Linked DNA regions of Homo sapiens: regions 1 and 3 are each linked to region 2. The links are contacts of gene promoters, found by promoter capture Hi-C in human tissues and cell types (Jung and others, 2019). All regions are on one chromosome and are shown on one strand. Each heading gives the region's core, a stretch centred on a gene start or on the middle of the fragment in contact. The rest is flanking DNA. Distances are from core to core; before and after follow the strand shown. Region 1 overlaps FOXJ3 (forkhead box J3). Region 2 holds the start of GUCA2A (guanylate cyclase activator 2A). Region 3 overlaps RIMKLA (ribosomal modification protein rimK like family member A).

Evidence for each region. Contacts are between HindIII fragments. The study calls those that stand out against the background at their distance.
Region 1: a contact is called between a fragment that was not itself captured here and the fragment with the promoter of GUCA2A in region 2, in 1 of the 25 tissues and cell types used here (dorsolateral prefrontal cortex).
Region 3: a fragment that was not itself captured here is called in contact with the fragment with the promoter of GUCA2A in region 2 in 3 of the 25 tissues and cell types used here (IMR-90 fibroblasts, bladder and dorsolateral prefrontal cortex).

The regions. Positions count from the first base shown.
Region 1 is chr1:42,313,019-42,316,578 of GRCh38, reverse strand. The region is part of intron 1 of FOXJ3 (forkhead box J3); the gene reads left to right. Among named protein-coding and RNA genes, the nearest start is that of FOXJ3, 20 kb to the left of the region's middle. The HindIII fragment of the contact is 7,614 bases long and covers 1-3,560 here.
Region 2 is chr1:42,162,555-42,166,571 of GRCh38, reverse strand. It overlaps GUCA2A (guanylate cyclase activator 2A), which reads left to right and starts at 1,827. Exons shown (of 3, transcript NM_033553.3): 1 at 1,827-1,934; 2 at 2,962-3,169; 3 at 3,602-3,882. The coding sequence starts at 1,860. The coding sequence ends at 3,666. RefSeq lists an enhancer at 1,003-1,967. The HindIII fragment of the contact is 10,088 bases long and covers 1-4,017 here.
Region 3 is chr1:42,392,371-42,396,000 of GRCh38, reverse strand. All of the region lies in intron 1 of RIMKLA (ribosomal modification protein rimK like family member A), which reads right to left. Among named protein-coding and RNA genes, the nearest start is that of RIMKLA, 13 kb to the right of the region's middle. The HindIII fragment of the contact is 7,595 bases long and covers 1-3,630 here.

The sequences.
Region 1 (3,560 bases), core at 670-3,169, 150 kb before region 2:
CTTGAGTCTTCAGCTACAAGGTCATGAATGGTAGTAAGTTTTTTGTAAATTATAAAGCATTGCATTTCTGTGTAGGTGGGAGAGGGGAGAGAGCTCGTAAGTATTTCGAGCTGGGTGTGATGACTCATGCCTGTAATCCCAGTGCTTTGGGAGGCTGAGGTGAGAGGATCATTTGAGGCCAGGAGTTTGACATCAGTTTGGACAACACAGCAAGACCTTGTTTCTACAGAAAAAAAAAAAAAAAAGGCCCAATGCAGTGGTGTGCACCTGTGGTCCCAGGTACTAGGAAGGCTGAAGCAAGAGGTTTGCTTGAGCTCAGAAGTTCGAGGCTGCAGTGAGCTATCATCTGGCCACTGTACTCCAGCCTGGGCAACAAAGCAAGACTCTGTCTCTTAAAAACAAAACGAACTTATTCAGAGCTTTTTCAAAATACTTAGTTCTATTTCACTCCATGCCCCCAGATAATATGTTATTATACAACTGTTAGTGTGTTGCGATGGCTGCTTCCTAAATGTGGATAGTTTGTAACTCAGTTTAATGTACACTTGAATACTGCTTATGTTAAAAGAAATTCCATGCTTTTCTGTTGGTAATGGAATATAATACAGTAAATAGCTTGTATTGCAGCATACTCATTAGCTAATGCCTGGCTTTTAGTACTCATTCTGGTTGTGTCATTCTACTCTTTCTTGATACATATTAGTTTTCAAAAGATTTGGAGATTTATGCTGTAGGCACCAAATAAAACCATGTAAATAAATTATGGATGTAACTGAATGAGTTAATATAGTTGTTCAACTACAGTTGATGCCACAGAGATTTGTTTGTGACTTGGAGGACTTTGAAATTTCCTGACTTCAATGTGAACCTTAGCCTTCTTTTGTGAGATTTCCCTGTTGCTGTTCAGTTGCCTGGGTAGGGAGAAGACTGATATATGTTTGTTCTTTCAGTCAACAAGGCTAGGGTTCAGGACGTCATTTAAGGACGGTAATCTAGAGGAAAAATGAATAACACTGGAACTAAAGCATTGAAGCTAGAGCAGATTGGAAAGATAACTAGAAGTTAGAATTTGATAGTAAATGGTAACTTATTGGAGGTACTAAGGGTGTTGGTGTTTGGACAGTTTAGTATGAGATCATTTTCCCTTGCCTGAGTTTTGAGCTGATTGAGAAATAAGAACCTACAGATGAAGAAGCAAGACAGTACCTTTAAAAAAATTAGCTTTTTATTCAGGTAAAAATCACATACTGTGAAGTTCACCATTTTAAAGTGTACAATTCAGTAGTTTTTAATGTATTCACAAAGTTGTGCAACCATTACCACTATCAATTAGGCCATTTTCATCACTCTAAAAAGAAACCTCCTAGCAGTCACTTCCCATCTGCAATCTTCCTCTCTTCCCCCATCTCCTGGCAACCACCAATCTACTTTTCATTTCTATAGATTTGCCAGTTCTGGACATTTCGTATAAATGGAATCATACAGCATGTGGTCTTTTGTGTCGTTTTCACTTAGCATGAGGCTTTCAAGGTTCATTTATGTGGTAGCATGTAAAAGTACTTCATTCCTTTTTATGGCTGAATAAAGTTGCATTGTATATTTTATGGCTGTTACTTAGATAAACCATACTTTGTTTATCTGTTCATTAGTTGACAAACATTTGGGTTATTTTCACTTACTGGCTTTATGAGTAGTGCTGCACATTTGTGTGCAAATGATCATTTGTGTGCATGTTTTTGTAGGAACATTTAAATTCTCTTGGAGATGTATATGCTTATAATTGCTGGGTTTTATGGTAACTCTGTGTTTAACTTTCAAAGGAGTTGCCTTTGTTTTTGATAAAACCTATATTGTAGAACGTGACTTAGGTTTAAGAGCCAAATGAGTTGGCTGACTTTCTGCAGCCCCTCATGCCCATCTGTCAGTGGGACAGTGCACCCTAGAGGATGTTTGGGTCAGCAGAGCAGACACACTCAGATCATTGCCTTGTAGAATCCTGGATGGAGAGTGAAAAGAAAGAGACTGAGGGCTGGGCGTGGTGCCTCACGCCTGTAATCCCAGCACTTTGGGATCCTAACCGAGGCAGGTGGATCACCTGAGGTCAGCAGTTCAAGACCAGCCTGACCAACATGGTGAAACCCCCTCTACTAAATACAGAAAAGTAGCCAGACATGGTGGTGCATGCCTGTAATCCTATCTACTTGAGAGGCTGAGACAGGAGAATTGGTTGAACCCAGGAGGCAGAGGTTGCAGTGAGCCGAGTTGGCGCCATTGCCCTCCAGCCTGGGCAGCAAGAGTGAAAACTCCGTCTCAGAAAAATAAAAAGATTCTGAGTCCCTGGTACTCAGTTCTTTTGTTAAGTTAGCTCTATGTACTAACCAGTTTACCTCTTTGGAGAGGAATGGGCTAAGAGGCCAGGAGTGTTTACTGAAGTAATTCCTCATAGAGACTAAGAGTTGGAAAAAAAATTAGTCTGCTCTAACAAAGAGTAAGAGTTAAGCTAGAAACCTGAAAGCCATTCTTAGATGAAAAGGCTGTGCCATTTTATCCAGGAAGGAAGTATATTAAGAGAAGATGATGAATTCAGTTTTAAACATGGTAAATTTGGGATTTCCAGGAGGGAATGTTAGATATTTGTTTGGAGATTAGGAGATTGATCTCTGCTAGAGATGAAGATTTGAGATCTATCTACCTTCAGGCAATTAAAATACAAGACTAGGTAAATCACACATAAAACAGTAAAGAAGTATGTCTAGTAATTTTTTTTCTTTTAAATAAAGAAAGCTGCTCTGCTGTGTACGAAACCATGACCCAGAGGCAGGTTGTCTGTGAGTGGTTTAGCGCCAGGTTCCCCACGAAAGTGTGTTCCGTGACAGGCAAGGGGACGGCTGCCTTTTTAGCCACACCCCATTTCCCAGGACGAGGGGCAGTCCACACTGGACCCTGGTCCCAAGGATGTCTAGTAACTTCTATATCTGCATTCCTTGTGGTTTATTGTGCTAACTGATGTTTCTGCTGTATTTTGCTGTGAGTGGCTGATTTCCTTCTGGGTTTTGTGATTTTTAGTTATGAATACATTTATTTTGAGATCTTACCTGTGGGAATTTTTCCAGGCTTAGGTCAAAGGTGATTTCCTCCAGAGAGAACGTACATTTGCTTCTGTCAAGATTGGGTGGGGGATACAACCATCCTAGGGCTACCCTAAACACAATTCTAGGTATGAAGCTTTTTTTTTTTTTTTGAGACGGAATTTTGCTCTTATTGCCTAGGCTGGAGTGCAGTGGTGTGATCTTGGCTCACTGCAACCTCTGCCTCCCAGGTTCAAGCGATTCTCCTGTCTCAGCCTCCCAAGTAGCTGGGATTACAGGCACATGCCACCATGCCCGGCTAAATTTTTTGTATTTTCAGTAGAGATGGGGTTTCATCATATTGGTCAGGCTGGTCTCAAACTTCTGACCTCAGGTGATCCGGCCGCCTCGGCCTCCCAAAGTGCTGGGATTACAGGTATGAGCCACTGCGCCCAGCCGGTATGAAGGTTTTAAAACCATAATCTAGGGGAA
Region 2 (4,017 bases), core at 578-3,077:
CACATATCTCAGTGCATATACACACATGAGCATACACACACACATACCTCAGTGCACATACACACACCCCAGCAGACACCCCAGCAGACACACATCCCAGCAAACACACACACCTCGGTGTACACACACGCGCCTGTGTATATACACACTGACACACACACACCTCGATGTATATATGCACACCTCCTTGCACAGACACAGATACCTTGGTGTACACGGACACACATATACCCCTCAGCATACACACACATACACCTCAGCATATATACACATACACTCCTCAGTGTACACACATGCCTCAGCACACACACACCTTCAGCACAAGCACACATACAAACACACCTTGGCTACACACACCCATCAGGGTATATACAGACACCTTGGCATACACAGACATACACATCTCCGCAGACACACCCCCCCTTAACACACACACACACACACACACACACACACTCACCAGAAAGGGGTGGGAAATCCAGTGCAGCTGTGAGGACTGCCCTGGGAGCTGGGCCAGGAGCTACCTGCCCCTCCCTGAGGGCCTTGTCCCTGCAGTTCCCTCCTGGTCAGGCCCTGCTCTCTCCAATTCCCTCTTCAGTGTTGACTCTCCCCACCCAGGAATTCCTGCCCAACCTCCCGCCCTAGGGCTGTCCTGGCATCGGGCCAGGTTGGCTGAGTAGAAAGATGACAATCCCAGGGCTACCCTTTCTCCTGTGTCCTGGGGATTCCTGCTCACAACAGCACACAGTGAATGCACGCTGCCCTGAGGGCGCAGTCTGAATGGGGTCAGAGTCTATAGGGGCGCGGGCACACCCAAGCAATTCCCCAGTGAGATCCGCGGAAAGGGGACTGTATCTGCAGGGGCAAGGGGGGCGGGCGGATTGGGGAGGAGCTCATTCGAGGACACCCTGAGGCTGCAGGGCAGGCAGGACAGGATGGGGACCAGCACAGGATGGGGACAGCCTGTGACTCAGACAGGCAGGAGGTCACCAGAGGGGCCAGGGAGGACCAGGAGCTGCTGTGGCTGCTAATAATATGGGAATGGACCTCTGCTGAGCACCTTCTGTGTGCCAGGCATTGAGCTAAATGTTTTTAAAACCTCACTTGATTCTCCAAACAGTAATGCCTACCACACACCTACCCCATGAGGTAGGTATTATTTTTGGTTCCCACAGGGGACACAAGGGACAACGAGACTCAGAGAGGGGAAAGCATTGGCCCAAGTTCACACGCCTCACAACTGGGCAGTAGGTGGAACGGAACCCAGGCTGTGCGGAGGGCTTCCTTGAGGTCGCGGCAATCAAACCCAGACCCTGACTTGCCCTGCAGCCTCCCCCGTGGAATTTCTCACATTTCCCTGAATATTCCAGGCCCGTCTCACCTCCTGGCTGTCCCTTTGGCATGAAATGGCCTTCTGTCCTCAGTCCCTTCTCTGGGAAAACTTCCACCCATTCTCCAGAGCTCAGCCCCCAGTGCAGCCCCGTCACCTCATCCTAGGATCACCCCACCCTAATCGCCCTGCGTTTCACTGTCGGGCTGGGCCCCCCTCCTCAAGGGCAGGGTCTGCCGGCCCCACACAGCAGCACAGGGCAGTCGTGAGTGAATGTGCCTTGTTGGTGAATGAATGCAGGACCCAGCCCGGCTGTGGGTCAAAGTAGGTGCTCAGGGAGGGGCCGGGGCCCCCCCTGCCTGGCTCTTATCTCCTAGGGCTGTCTCGAGCCTTATCTGATAAGGCCTGACAGGTGAGCAGATGAGACTGACAGAGGCTTCCAGGTTACTCAGTAACCTGCCCTCTTTAAAAGTCCCGCCGCTTCCCCCTGGCATCCAGAACAGCCACCCCTCTCTCGGGCACTGCTGCCATGAATGCCTTCCTGCTCTCCGCACTGTGCCTCCTTGGGGCCTGGGCCGCCTTGGCAGGAGGGGTCACCGTGCAGGTGAGTCCTGTGTCCCTACCCCGGCCCAGCTGGCTCCCTGCCCCTAGTGCCCAGGTCTGGTCCCCTGAGAGAGTACCTCCTCTTTGGGGCTGGATTGAGGGTGTGTGTCCCAGGCTTGGCCTTCTTCGAGGAGCTCCTGCTCAGTCCAGCCACACACACACCTTTCCCTTCAACTTTGGAGGAGAAAGAAACCCAGTGGAGGGAAGAGGAATAACCATATGGGGAAGGCGGGGAGTTGGCCAATTTACTGAGTGTCCTATGTGCCGGCTCCTTCCCCAGCCCCTCACTGTGGCTCCACTATCAACCTGGAAGAAAGGGATCATTAGTCCCATTTTACAGAGGGGAAAACTGAGCCTCACAAAGGTTCTGTAACAGGCCATGGGCACATGGCTGTGGGAAGTGCAGGAGCTGGATTTAAATCCAGACCTTACTCCTCAGTGGGTCCCAGGAACCACATGGACACCCTGGAGGTCCTGACAGATGGGTATGCCTACCAGTGCCAATGCTGGCGACAGGCCAAGCTGGCACCTAGCGGGGGCCCTGATCTCTATCAAAGCCAGATTCCGGGAGGCCTTTTATTGCTTCTCAAACCAAAACCAGGCTGCAGGCTGGAGCTGGGGGCCCAGTAATCAGCCGCACCGCTCTCAGGCAGGGGAAAGACAGCCTGGGCTTGGCCACGTGGAACTACGATGCCTGGGTGCTGGTCCTTTGCCTCTCCCTAAAAATCAGCACACTGGCTCCTACTCATTAGGCACCTATGGTGTTCCTGGAGCTTCACACCCATTTTCTCCATTCCCCATACAACATGCAGAATTTGCGGGTTCCAGAGTGTCCAGCATCACGGAGCCAAGCCAGGACGTGGGGCCTGAACTCTGCCCCTCACAGTGCCCCACTGTGGATCGCCTGGCTCCCATATGCCACGAACACTGCCTGTGAGCACCACTGGGCTGGACCGGGGCCAGCACGGGGGGCACAGCCAGGAAGCAGGCTGCAGCCTGGCCTCATGCTCTGGGCTTCTCTCTTCCAGGATGGAAATTTCTCCTTTTCTCTGGAGTCAGTGAAGAAGCTCAAAGACCTCCAGGAGCCCCAGGAGCCCAGGGTTGGGAAACTCAGGAACTTTGCACCCATCCCTGGTGAACCTGTGGTTCCCATCCTCTGTAGCAACCCGAACTTTCCAGAAGAACTCAAGCCTCTCTGCAAGGAGCCCAATGCCCAGGAGATACTTCAGAGGCTGGGTGAGCAGCCTCCTTCCTCTCTGATTGGTGGGGTTCGGGAATACTGTGGTGGCACTTGAGGAAGAGATGTGCTCTGATTGGTGGGATTTGGAGGAAGGGCTCAGCTCTGACTGGTGGAACTAGGGAGCTTGGCTCTGATTGGTGGGTCTGTTCCATGCCCACTTCAATTCCAAGTTGTAACTGCTGAGGTTTGGGAACTAAGACCATTCATCTGGTCTTAGTTTCCTCTCTTTCTGGTGGAATCTCTGCTTTGATTGGTTGGTTTGAGTGGTCTGTGTGCCCTGGTTTGGGGCGAAAAGCCCAGTAGGTCAGAGTACGGGCCTGCTGAGATTCTCCTGGGGCTGGGTGGTGACGTACAAGCTCTGGGCCAAGGGCGGCAGGGGCCTCGCGAGGAAATGCTGGTTCTCACGAGGCTCCATCTCTGTTGTGCAGAGGAAATCGCTGAGGACCCGGGCACATGTGAAATCTGTGCCTACGCTGCCTGTACCGGATGCTAGGGGGGCTTGCCCACTGCCTGCCTCCCCTCCGCAGCAGGGAAGCTCTTTTCTCCTGCAGAAAGGGCCACCCATGATACTCCACTCCCAGCAGCTCAACCTACCCTGGTCCAGTCGGGAGGAGCAGCCCGGGGAGGAACTGGGTGACTGGAGGCCTCGCCCCAACACTGTCCTTCCCTGCCACTTCAACCCCCAGCTAATAAACCAGATTCCAGAGTACTCTGGGTGTTGCCTTCCTTCCTTCCTTCATCCCCTAGTCTATCCTGCCCTGGAAGCTCGGGATGTAATGTACTAAGCGAAGGACCCCACTCTCCCTGCTAAGCTGCTCACTGTCCCTGGGGCTGCCACAACACA
Region 3 (3,630 bases), core at 896-3,395, 230 kb before region 2:
CCAAAGTGCTGGGATTACAGGCGTGAGCCACCGCCCCCAGCGCTAGCTCTGACATTCTTGCCATGGGCAACTTCACATGCCTCCTGCTCTTTCCCATTGCCACTGCCATCATATTTCTAATAGTAGTAGACAAGAAGCAGCTGCTCATGTGGCTTCAGTGGGAGCAACAGTTATACACAGCCATGGCCAAGGACAATTTGGGTTTAAGGCTGGCCCTCGGCAAAAGGTCTGTAAATTTTGAGACCTTTAACCACTTAAGTAATCTCCTCTCAGGAAAGGACCTAATAAACTTAATACAGGATGGAGCTTAATGTATCACCTCTCCCAGGATCGTTAACATTTCCACTGCAATCTACGGACCTCAAGTCAAGGGAACGAAGAGCTGATGCAGGATATCAGGAAGGACAGGGCTCTGCTTGGTTGCTAGTCAACAGAAGGAAAGCCCTCAACAATCAGAGGCTCATGCCCTCCAAGAAGAGATTTCATGTGATTAAGTACCCTAGTGCTCTTGGGTATCACCCTAACTTGGGGAGAGGGAGAGGCAGCTGAATTGTTTCTGGAATATTTTGGGGTCTCCCAGACTCATGGGGTGGGCTTGAGATTATGTTTAGCCTCAAACCACTTAAAAAAAAAAAAAAAACTAAAACAACCACTCTGTCCCCAAATAGGTCAATGAAATATTAGTGGAAAAAAGATCAAACCTCAAACAAGTTAGGACAGTGACCAACTGCCAACCCAGTTAAAACCAATTTTTTGAAACCAAAACAATATTTTCTCTATGTTCTAAAAAAGAATAATCTACTTTTATGGGTAATTGTGTTCTGATTTCCTTTTGAATTCTCTATTTATATTTGAAAATATTTTGATGTATTAAAAACAAGATAGAAAACCAGGATAACTTTTCCCAAAGAACAGAGTCTGTTTTTTCTAACCCATATACTGGGTTAAATTCTACATAACTAGGCGGGGCACAGTGGCTCTCGCCTGTAATCCCAGCACCTTGGGAGGCCAAGGCGGGTGGATCACCTGAGGTCAGGAGTTTAAGACCAGTCTGGCCAACATGATGAAACCCCGTCTCTACTAAAAATACAAAAATTAGCTGGGCGTGGTGGTGTGCACGCCTGTAATCCCAGCTACTTGGGAGGCTGAGGCAGAAGAATCACTTGAACCCAGGAGGCAGAGGCTGCAGTGAGCTGAGATCGCGTCATTGCACTCCAGCCTGGGCAACAAGAGCGAAACTCCGTCTCAAAAAAAAAAAAAATCTTCATAACTGGACTTACGCATTTGTATGTGCAATAGCGAAGAAATACACTTTATGATAAAGAGAAATAGCTTCAGAAATAAATCTTTATTGGAAAGCAGAGTTCTAAAACTTAACCATTCTCAATCATCATAACAACAGAGGGAAGCAGAGGCATGGATAATAAAAGGTCTTGTAGTTCAGATTTGAATTCGGACAAGATTTTTATTGAGCCTCTATTGCGTTTTAGGTTATTTGCTAAGAACTTTCACACATTATCTCGTTTAAAGTAAAGGTGTCTTATAATACAGATCCTTGGAATTGATTTGACTATAAATGTCTTTGCATTTACACAAAGCCGATACATAATGAGTCATCACCCTCCAACCTGTGCATGCATGTCACTCACATATGTGTGCACACATGTGCATCCTTGGATTCACTAAAGAAAGCTTCAACACCAAACGGATGTCTGGTATGCCAGAAAAAACCTTCATGTACAAAACAAGCAGAAAAATTAAGAAAACAGCAGGATACTAAAGCATGACAGCAAACAAGGACCTCACTTATGGTAGCTTTTAGAACCATTATATTTGAGCAGGATCATGTAACAGTGGCTGGCAGTGAAACTCTGAAAGTTACCAGAAAGGAATCAACTATATAAATAACGTGAATAGGCCAGGCATACTGGCTCACGCCTGTAATCCCAGCACTTCGGAAGGCCGAGGCAGGCAGATCACCTGAGGTCAGGAGATCGAGACCAGGCTGGCCAACATGATGAAACCCTGTCTCTGCCTAAAATACAAAAATTAGTTGGGCGTGGTGGCAGGCGCCTGTAATCCCAGCTACTCAGGAGGCTGAGGCAGGAGAATTGCTTGAACCCGGGAGGCAGAGGTTGCAGTGAGCCGAGATCCCGCCATTGCACTCCAGCCCTGGGGGACAAGAGTGAGACTTTGTCTCAAAAATAAATAAAAAAATAAAAGTGGATAATCCACTTAGCACTTCAGATTATCTTGTGTTGTGAGGAAGATGTGTCATCCAAACATGACTTGGCACACCTCCATCAGTTTCCACCTTTCCCCTTATTTCTTCCTACTCCACCCACAGCATTTTCTCGTAAAACAGTTATTTTTATTTTTAACAAGTAGATGCCACACCCCTCTCCTTCCCTTTTAAAGTTCTTTGTGACAATGCCCAAAGAAAGCTCACCTCCACCTCACTAAAACCCACAGACATTTATGTGGCCATTTTCTCTTTCCACCAACTGTGATTTTGAGGTGATTTAATTCAATTCAACACTTATTGAACTGGTTGGTATGACTCAGACACACTACTAAGCAGGAATACAAAGTTGAACTAGATGGTCTCTGCCTACCAGGAGATTATAGTCTCCTCACAGAGAAAGATACACAACTTAAATATGCATTTTTTTCACTCCTGAAACACATTGATTGTTTCACATATTCATTCAGGGAATATTTATTTAGCACCTACTTTGGGCCAAGCCTAGTGTTAGTTTGGTTTCTGTAGAAGCTCACTCAGACAGGATTTAAGTGCAAGTAGTCTCTCTGGATAGTAATTTCAGGAAATGTTGGGAGGGGCATAGAGAAGGGAATGAGGCAAACAAAACATACTTTATCAAGGGAGTTACCACCTCTCAGCAACCAGAGCTGAATCCTGCTGAGGAACTCTAGGAAATGGCTTAGTACATGCACTTCAGTTATTCCACCTGAGAGGCCAGGGAGTTGACAATTTCAAGTTTTTGTTTTGAGACAGGGTCTTGCTCTGTCATCCAGGCTGGAGTGCAATGGCGCGATCTCGGCTCACTGCAACCCCTGCCTCCCGGGCTCAAGTGATTCTCCTGCCTCAGCTTCCTGAGTAGCTGGGACTACAGGCACGAGCCACCATGCCTGGCTAATTTTTGTATTTTTTGTAGAGACGGGTTTTCACCATATTGCCCAGGCTGGTGTCGAACTTCTGAGCTCAGGTGATCTGTCTGCCTCAGCCTCCCAAAGTGCTGGGATTTCATAAACTCATAATGTCTACCTCTCAGGGTATGAGCCACTATGCCCAGCCAATTTCAAGTGTTTATACATCAACTCAGTTTTTGGTTAAGGCTGCTCCAGGGGCATGGTGTTAATTTCCTGACCCTTCTGGCTTGCCATACATGTGTGGGCAACGTGGGATCCTGTACCAGACAAAGCCCTCTAACAGGTGCAGGTGCTGGTAGTCAGAAGCCGGGCCCTGGTGCAATCAAATGGTAAAAGCCAAAGGGACTGACAGGGAAGGAACAAGCACTGTCTTCTTAAGGGCTGGGCATGGGAGTTGACAGGTGTGAGTAAAACAAACAATATCCCTGGAATTTAAGAAGACAGACAACACACAGTTGT